2 separate regions of the Homo sapiens genome follow, and region 1 is linked to region 2. The links are contacts of gene promoters, found by promoter capture Hi-C in blood cells and fetal thymus (Javierre and others, 2016). All regions are on one chromosome and are shown on one strand. The core of a region is centred on a gene start or on the middle of the fragment in contact, and the rest is flanking DNA. Distances in the headings are between cores, read along the strand shown.

Region 1 (4,890 bases), core at 482-2,981, 1.1 Mb after region 2:
GCCCAGGCTGGAGCGCAGTGTTGTGATCTCGGCTCACTGGTGCGATCTTGGCTCACTGCAACCTCCACCTCACAGATTCAGGCAATTCTCCCTGCTTCAGCCTGCCTAGTAGCTGGGATTACAGGTGCCCACCACCATGCCTGGCTTTTATATTTTTAGTAGAGATAAGGTTTTCACCATGTTGGCCAGGCTGGTCCCGAACTCCTGACCTCAGGCGATCTGCCCACCTCGGCCTCCCAAAGTCCTGGGATTACAGGTGTGAGCCACTGCACCCAGCCCACTGATGGTGCTTTTTAATGAGAAAGTCTGGTCAAGGGCAGCAAGGGCAGAGGCTGGTTCTAGTCCAGGATTCTCAACCTGTCTGCAGGTAGAATCACCTGGGGACTTTGGGAAAAGCCCATTGCCTAGTGTGTCTTCCAGACCAGCTTCATCACAATCTCCAGGAGTGAGACCTAGGGATTGGTGTTTTCTTTTTACAAGTTTCTGAGGTGAATCCAATGTGCAGCCCAGTTTGAGCCCCATTGATGTATCTGATCTAAGAGGTCAACAGGTGCAGTAATGTGGGGAGGGGCACATATGCTCTGGCTCTGTCATGTACTGTGTGGATTTGGTAACATTAGTGTTTGGTTTTGTTTGTAAACTTTGTGATGGAGATAATTCTATTACACAGTGTCTAACACCTAATTTGTGCTCAATAAATGGTCACCTCCTCACCGTCTCCTTCCCTGTTCACCTCCTCCTCAGACATAAGCAAGGTCAGTTATGTAATGCTGGCAGGCTGTTGGCAGCAGGCACCAGATAAATGTGTATTGCAGGTTTCCTGCTGTTTATGGATCATGTTTTATTCATGCACATATGATGCAGAATGCTCCCTCTGAGGGGAGAACTTTGAGCCTGCAGATTTAAGATGTGGCAATACATTTATATAAATTGAGGAGACGAAGGCAAGTGGGTGATGAGAAACGCAAAGCCCTGACGGAGGGTTTCACAGGCATTTAGGAAGTGGAGGCCAAGGATGTTCAAGCAGCCTGGAATTGCTCTTTTTCCTAGGTCAGCACTGCCCTCTAGTGGGGCAGAGTCACAGCCAACCCGCGTTTCCTCCTCACTCCTCCCACTTGCGAGAACCATCTAGGGTTAAAATTACTCCAAGTCCAGCCAAAGAAACAGCCTAGGGAGACCAGCCATGCACGCCCCCATTCTTGGACTCATTGTTCCTGAAACACAAAGATAATTCTAGAAAGCTTCTATTCATGCCAGATATCAGAAGATTTGCATGCATTACATATAATTCTCACTGTTCTACAAGACTGATAACCCTTCTTCCCAGACTCAGAGTTGGGAAGTGAATCTTCCAGAAATTGAGAAATGTAACCAGGATTCCAGCCTGGTAGGAATCAGCCTTGGCTGATTCTCACGCCTTCACCACTGTGCCGTGATACCTGCTCTTTCTCTAGGAACTAGGTCCCGGAGTCCTGAGTTAAAATCCACTTCCACCATGTACAAGCTGTGTGACCTTGGTGCAGCTGACTGATCTCTCTGCGCTTCTGTATTCTCATCTACAAAAAGAGTCTCATAAACTCACCTTATCAAGGCATAGTGAGAATGATTGACCTTGAATAAATCAGAAGGGGCAGAGAAAGAGCTGAAGAAAATGACTGCCTCTGGATGGTAGGAAAACTGTGTTTTCCCCCTGCTGAATGCATTACTTTTATAATCAGACGAAATGATCACTTTCCTTGTAAAGAGGTAGAAGCCGTCACCCGTGTGTACCAGCCCTGCGAGATATTATAGGAGAGACCGTTTTCTTGTTTCCTCGAAGTTGAGTCAAGCAAATCTCAAGATTCCTCTAAAGAAAACCTCAGGCTTCCCCCAAAGGGATCTCTCATTTTGTCAAGTACAGAACCCTCAGCTCTGCCCTTCTGCTGCCCAGCTAGCTTGGTGCTGTCTCTGTCACTGCTAAGAAGTCAGGACTGACTGTCATGTGAGATCTCACTGTCCTCAGGTGCCCTCCCTTCCCACGTTCAGGAAGGGATCTGAGCAGAGGTTTGAGTGCAGGGCAGCGTGACTCCTGGGTACAGTAGGTTCTCCCTTCACCACTCTCCCAAGGACAGCTGAGAAGTGCCTGGTCCTTGCAGTTCCGTTCTATCAGCACCTGAAATTCTATTGCAATAGATAATTGTATTCTTCAGAAGTATGTTCTTCAGAGAATCGTATTTGTCTCTAAGCTTTCTGTCATTAGGAGAACTGTGTTGGGATTTATTAAAAATTACTCATAAGAAATAAGCCTTGTGCATAGAAACAGACGAGAAGGGAAGATCTAAATGCATGTCAGTGTTTCTGGGTGGTGAGAGATGGTGATTTGTGCTGTCATCTTTGTAATAATGATTGCTAAAATTTATTGAGCACTTACTGTATGCCAGGCGCTGTGGAAAGCCCTTGTGAGGCACTAATCACCCAAACCTCAAAACAATCCTGCGAGGTGGGTACTGTTAACCTCACTCACAGGTGAGAGTATGGAGGGCCAGAGTAGGTAAGTACCTTTGTCAAGGTCACACAGCCAGTGACTGCAGACCCTGGCCATGCAGCTCTAGGGTCTGTGTTCTTGGCCACTGTGTTATTCTGCCTCTCTACGCTTGGTTTATCCTCAGTCATCCTTAATGAGCATGTGCTGCTTTTAAAATGAAGAAAAGGGGTTTTGTTTGTAAATTAACTTACATGGTTCCAGGAATGATAAACGCATATGAAGAAAGACAGTACAAATATAATAATGCCTAAAGGGAAATATGAGAACGATGCTAATCCTTTACATGATCCTGTATTTTCCACATTCTCTAAAAAAAGCAGAGTTTACCTAAGTGATTTAAAACGTCATAAAAAAAGAAAATCCTGCTGTTAGAGGCACCAGTAAGAAGAACAAATAACAGCTGATGGTTTTTGAGAATGTCTGTGTTCCAGGAATTGATCAGAAGCATTCTGTGCACTACGTATTTGACCCTCAATAACCCCTTAGGAGGTAGGGATTGTTGTCATCCCATTTTACAGAGGAGGAAACTGAGGCCGAGGGAGCATTTGTACCATGCTCACAGACACACCAGTACAGCAGAGCCTTGACACCGATCCTCCCTCAAGGTCAGTAGTACCTCTCTGTCCTTTTCCACCCCAGGAGACCTTGAGGGTCAGAAACACGAATGGGTGCATCTAATTGCAAAGTGAGTAGGGGAGCTGATAGCAGTCCCTGGGTTTCTGGATGGCCTGTTTGGCTTTGCTCTCAGGGGCATAAAGAGTTTATGCCAGCAGGTAGCAGATGCCTGCAGCTCCTCGGGCAGCCTGTGCTCCTCTCACCCAGCCCCACAGGCTGTTCAACGCAGGAGCCATGCCCCATGCTACACTTTGACAAAGAGAAAAATAAAGGTTCACATGGAAGGGTCAACATTTTTCTCAAACAATGCAGCATGCACCACCATAGCCAGCCAGTGATAGTATCTCTTCCAAGAGCAGGCCTTCCAGTGAGCCTGCAGAAGCCGCAGGGCCAGGCGGAAGGAGGGAGAACAAGAATGGGTGCCATGGAGTCTTCCTCTTGGAGCATCAGTGGAAACTGATGTTTATGAAGTGCTTCATCTGTGCCAGGGCTGGGCCCCCACCATTGCTTTCATTTATTACTCACCACAGCCCTATAAAATGTCTTAGTAGCACACTACTTTTCAGATGCAGCAAACCAGCATAGAGAGGCTGAGGGGGCTCCCCAGGTTTCCAGGCAGTTAAGTTGGTAGTACTTGGACGCACATCCAGTCCAGCTGTAGAACCCACTCTGAATCCCACCCCACCTGCCCTCTGAAGGGCAACTGGGCTTCCCTGCTGTAAGTTTTGATTTCAGAGTAGCCGTGTGCCTGCATCTGAATGGACTCCTCGATTCAAGGAGCTGCCTTTGAATAGCAAAGTTTAGTTGTTTTTGTTCTTCAACCCTGTCTATTTGCACGTGAGCTAACTGGGGACCCAGTTTTGCGTAGGCATATTGTGGTTAAGCTGCTGCCTGGAAGCCAAGTGCCCCGGGGCGAGCTGCTTAAGTGGGCCTCATGCCTTCTTGGATGAAACTGGGATGGTAGCACCCAACCCATTGCCTAGTTGGGAGTAATCCTGAGGTAACATTGGTGAATCACATAGTCCAACTGGCGTCACACAGCAGGCACTCAAATAGCCATTTGTGTGTATGTACTTATATCACGCATGTGCATACGTGTGTATTAAAAATATTAAAATCACGTTTTCTTGCCTGAAACGTAGATACACAGCTTACACGTTGTTGTGAAATAAATACCCATGAAGTCTATAAACAAATCAACCACAAAACTAGCATTGGAGAATCTCCTCCCCACCTGTCCCCAAGGACCCTCCCTTCCCCCGACAGTAACCACAGTCCTGACTTCTGTAATAGTCCTTTCCCTGGTGTTCTTTATAGTTTGACTCCCTGTCATTAAAGAGTTAACTTTGCTGTTTGGAATCCTGCATAAGTAGACTCACACCAGGACGTGTTCTTTCAACTTCAACCATGTCATTGATGATCACCTATAGATGATCTGTTTTCTTTGCTGTAGAGTAACTCCAGAGTACGGGAGATCACAGTATGTTTTTCTGTTCTACCATGGTTGGGCATTTGGGATAGTTTCCAGTTGGGAAATCTTACAAACAATGCTGGTGTGCGCATTCTTGGATGCTTCTCCAAGAATGTGCAGTCCGTCAGCACACTTGCTGTGGGGTGTTTACCAAGGACTCAGAATTGTGCATCATTGGATTAGTTTATCTTCACTTTTTCAGACACTGCCAAGTTTTGCCAAGGTGTTGTCCAATTTACACTCCTACCAGCAGTGTAGGAGAGCTTCAGATCCTTGCCAA
Region 2 (4,818 bases), core at 128-2,627:
TGGGCCAGGTACAGTGGCTCATGCCTGTAGTCCTAGCACTTTGGGAGGCCGAGGTGGGCGGATCATGAGGTCAGGAGATCGAGACCATCCTAGCTAATACAGTGAAACCCTGTCTGTCTGTACCAAAAATACAAAAATTTACCAGGCGTGATGGCACGTGCCTGCAGTCCCAGCTACGCGGGAGGCTGAGGCAGGAGAATCCCTTGAACCTGGGAGGCAGAGATTGCAGTGAGCTGAGATTGTGCCACTGCACTCCAGCCTGGCAAGAGCGAGACTCCATCTCAAAAAAAAAAAAAAAAAAAAAAAAAAAAATCAGTGGTTGCTCGGCAGGGTGAGGCTGGGAAGGAGGAGTGAGAAAGGGGTGGGAAGAACTGCTGGGGTAGAGAGACTTGGTTAACTGGACTGTGGCGATGGTTTTTCTCTTACGCTTCACATGTGTGCAGTTTATGTCCATCCTCCTTCAGTAACGCTGTTGAAGTTGGGCAGCCTCCCCATATTGAGACAAACGGCATTGAAGCCAGAAGCATCCTAGGACTCCCTTTGCTCTCTACACATCAGGGGTTAGGTTTTATATTTCTCACCAAAAAATTAGAGTAAGAGATATTCTTAATTTAGAAATGTACCAGAGAATATTTTAAAAATCACACTCGGCCGGGTGCTGTGGCTCATGCCTGTCATCCCAGCACTTTGGGAGGCAGGCAGATCATCTGAGGTCAGGAGTTCAAGACCAGCCTGGCCAACATGGTGAAAGCCTGTCTCTACTAAAAATACAAAAATTAGCCAGGTGTGATGGTGCGTGCCTGTAATCCCAGCAAATCGGGAGGCTGAGGCAGGAGAATCGCTTGAACCTGGGAGGTGGAAGTTGCACTGAACCAAGATAGTGCCACTGTACTCCAGCCTGGGCGACAGAGTGAGACTCAAAAAAAAAAATCACACTCCTGACTAAAAATTTCCAGGAGGTCCTTTTAGTTTTTTGTGTTTGTTTTTCACACACAGACCAACCAACTAAAAAGTGACTGGGGAAAAAAAGGAAACACCACACTATATCTTTTTGAAATGTAAGTATACAGATTTTAATTTATTTTTAAGAATAATTGTATATTTTAAAAACAGGACACGTACTGTATGAGTAAACAGCGTGGCTAACACCAAGTCCACACTGGTAAGCTTTTGAGAACCATTTACACTATGTTGACAGTAGTACTGCTGCAGGCAGACAGCGGAAGAATAAATAATAGTGCTTCAAGAAGAGTAGTGATTGAGAGGATAGGTAAAGAGGGCGCCTCATCGTGGAAGCTAGAGCAGGAACACCTCCCCAGTAGTGACATGTGCAAAGTTCCAGATCTCCACGACAAAGACAGCTCAACCCATTGGAACAAACAGACTCCCAATGTGGCTGGCAACTGCGGGGGTAGAAGAACTCAGGCAAAGTAGGCACAGGAATGGGGGAGATGAGAGCCAAGGGACAAACGCCGAGAAAGCGTTCCGACAAGCATGTGTGTTCATACATGCATACCCCCAACAAAGGGCAATGCACTGTGTAACAGAACTGAACACAATTTAACAAAGCTGCTCCCAGCCTTCCTGTCACCTCTTTGGCAGTAGGGCAGGCCATCTCAACTTCGGACACACAAAGACATTCTCTTCAGGAGGAAGGCTGTCCTGTGTGGTGGGGACAAGGCTTCAGGTAAGAGCAAAGCTATGATAGCTACAGCATTAATTGAACATGCCTAAACAAAAAAGATGTTAATTACTAGTTACAGGTATACATGCCAAAATTACCCCCAGGGATGGGCATAGTCAATCATTTTCCTACAGTGGTGAAATAAAACAAGCTTTGATCATGCTTCAGCAAGTAGAATTATGTGGTAGAGAAGTCAGGCCCCATATGCTAAAATTTGCACTTCTTGCCATAAACTTTTCATGTATATAAGTCAAAACCAAGTCTCCTAGGACCACTAAACCTATGATGGGCTTTCAACTGTAACACTCATTCACATCTTTAAGTTAGGCCCATGGTCATGGAACCTGGCCAAGGTTTCAAGCACGCCTAAGCTGAAGAAAAACTAAAGTCACCCCCATATAATTAGGTCCAGTCTAGGCACAGGAAGCCACAGCTGGTTGACTGATCAGGGCTTCTCAGGACTGGATGTTGGTTGAATTGAGGATTCCAGAAGTAGCATCAGATTTGGAAGCCTTTGAAAGTTCTCGCTGTTGAAAAATAAATAACATCAGTGGCCATACTGCCTCTCTTACACATGGCCCACCCTTCTAAGTTTGGTTAAGTGTCAGCAAAAGGTCCCTTGAAGGTAGTTTCTCTGAGATCCCTAGCCTGCAATAGGCTGCGTTAGGAGTAAAAGGTGAGGAACTCTGAGCACCATTCTATTAGTCACAGACAGAGTGCATGTGCACGCATGCCCGTGACCCCTTTTTCCTCAGCCAGTCCATTCTGTTACACCTCACAGAAGAGAAATCCTTCATACAGTCATGCACTGCATAATGATGTTTCAGTTAACGACAGGCCACATACACTATGGTGGTCCCATAAGATTATACCATATTTTTACTGTACCTTTTCTATGTTTAGATACACAAATACTTACCATTGCGTTACAATTGCCTACAGTATCCCAGGAATAGCCTGAATCAAAAAAACCCACAATTGCCTACAGTATTCTTTCTGTAACATGCTGCCCAGGTTTGTAGCCTAGGAGGAAAACGCCATACCATATAGTTTAGGTGTGTAGGCTGTTCTGTCTAGGACTGTTAAGTACACTCTGATATGTGCACAATGAAATTGCCCCACATTCTCAGAACATATCCCTGTCATTAAGCGAGGCATGACTCTACTTCACAGAGCTACTTTAGAGTTGTCAAGGTAAGTAGGCAACAAGCTTTGGTCTCTTGAGCCCTTTATAAAACAATGGGCCAGAACATATATCTACCAATCCCTGGGGCTGAGGCCTTGTAACCTGCTGGTGATTTGATCTCATGCTGGAGCACATGGTAGAGCAGCAAAAGATAAAGCATGAATGGCTATTGAGAAAGACAGATATTAGCAGAGGTTAGTTTACCGGCTTTGGTGCTGCCTGGTGGAGTCTATCAGCCATAGCAACCCAAACCAGACGAACCTACCTAGGACTAGCCACACAGATAGGCAGGTACATTTAAGCCTCAGATAAAATGGGCCTTGGTTGAACAAGCGAAAAAGAGAAAGCTGGACCTCTGTCCAGCAATCAGCCAGAGTGACACACACCCACTTTTAAAGGTAGAAGCACCACCAGCCACGTAATTTGAAAAACATGCTGGAGTAGGAAGCCAGTTTCAGTGATCAAAACTAGCTGCAGCCTTGGCCAACTGTTCCATTCTCTATCCCTGCAGCAATTAAGAGGGGAGGCAGGCTAGGGGTTTAACTCAATATCCCCTCAAGGGTGAGGAACATCCTCTCCTCTTGCTAGTAAAATATTGAGAGAAGAAATCACAGATTAAGTAAAAGGCAGTGTAGTTAGGTGTTAGCAAATATAGAGTAGGATACTAGGAAGTGAAGAGCATTCTGGAAAAACTTGCTTCCAGTGCTTCATCTATGCTTCAGTAGCTCAATGTATGGAAAGAGGCAAAGGTGAGGAAATCAGCATTAGCTAGCTGAGAATAGAGCTGGCGGTTAAGCCCTGAGGGGTTAGGAAGGCATATACTCCAGGAAATAATCAGCACACAGGCCAAGAGCCTCATTGTAGGCAGCACACAGCTGGGGCTCCCTTCCCCATGTGATTGGGGGCCTCTATTCTTTCCAGCTATTGCAGGCCTTTGATGTCACAATTGGGGAGGGTCAAGGTTTTCTGTTAAACGTGATTTAAAACTGTGCCTGACTTTAGGGGCTGAGAATCCAATTCAAGTCTGAACAAATTTTATTAATTAATCTGTTGTGAATGTAAATCAGATGTGTTTTTTTGAGTCCATGATAGGAATTCCTGCTTCCTTTGTAACACTGCTGAGATTATTAGTTAGTGTAGCCCTGTGCCCAGATGAATGAAGCCAGCAGATGACAGATCAGTTTGGAAAAGGGACATGCAGGGATTGCCATACAGACCTGAAGCCCAACAGTGGAACTGTCAGAGAGGGACGGATCCTTCTAAGAACAAAGAATTAAGACAATTACCAAGAACTCCACCAAGAGAGCACCAGGACAGTGATAGAGGGGTTGCCTCCTGCAGCCAGGGAATGGTATGTATTAAGCAGAAGGATCCAGGTTAAATGTCTAGTTGCTGCTGCCAACTTCCTTCCTACACAACCCCCCCTTAAATCACACCCACCCTGCCATGGTCAAAGCAGGAAAGGGATTCTCAGCCTCCAAGGTAGCTGCCCTAGCTAATAGCCTGGGTGCCCCTGGGAAGATACCCACTCTGCCCCAACTGTGTGCTCCCCAGAGACTGGTAGATATTAGAAAAGGTGAATTACCGCAAACTCAGAATAGGTGCTGGCAACAGAATTAATGCTGAAGTTGCGCTGGAGGGGGGCCGAGCCAGGGTACCCACCACTCAGGATGCTGCCGTTGAGCTCCAGGTTCTCCTTGTTGGCTCCATGCCTGCCAGTACGGGGTGTTTTCTTCCCTGAACAGGTGGAAGCAGCGACTGGCTGCAGAGAAAGGAAAGAGATCCATGTATCATCCTTCTAATGAACGTGCACACGCACACACAATACCTGCACTGGTCAAAGGCTGAGACTATCTTTATATTCATGTCTATAATCCTATACTTTTTAGTTAAAAAAAAAACATATATATATATATATATATATATATATATATATATATGGGGCTGG

Evidence for each region. Contacts are between HindIII fragments. The CHiCAGO score rates a contact against its expected background, and 5 or more counts as called.
Region 1: a fragment that was not itself captured here is called in contact with the fragment with the promoter of PRC1-AS1 in region 2 in 1 of 17 cell types (endothelial precursors); the score reaches 6.7 in endothelial precursors.

Annotation. Positions count from the first base shown.
Region 1 is chr15:92,081,390-92,086,279 of GRCh38, forward strand. The region is part of intron 2 of SLCO3A1 (solute carrier organic anion transporter family member 3A1); the gene reads left to right. Among named protein-coding and RNA genes, the nearest start is that of SLCO3A1, 230 kb to the left of the region's middle. RefSeq lists an enhancer at 958-1,007. The HindIII fragment of the contact is 984 bases long and covers 1,240-2,223 here.
Region 2 is chr15:90,964,992-90,969,809 of GRCh38, forward strand. PRC1-AS1 (PRC1 antisense RNA 1) reads left to right here and starts at 1,378. Exons shown (of 4, transcript NR_051984.1): 1 at 1,378-1,687. It overlaps PRC1 (protein regulator of cytokinesis 1), which reads right to left. Exons shown (of 15, transcript NM_003981.4): 13 at 4,456-4,632; 14 at 4,088-4,129; 15 at 1,049-2,211. The coding sequence ends at 2,140. The HindIII fragment of the contact is 668 bases long and covers 1,166-1,833 here.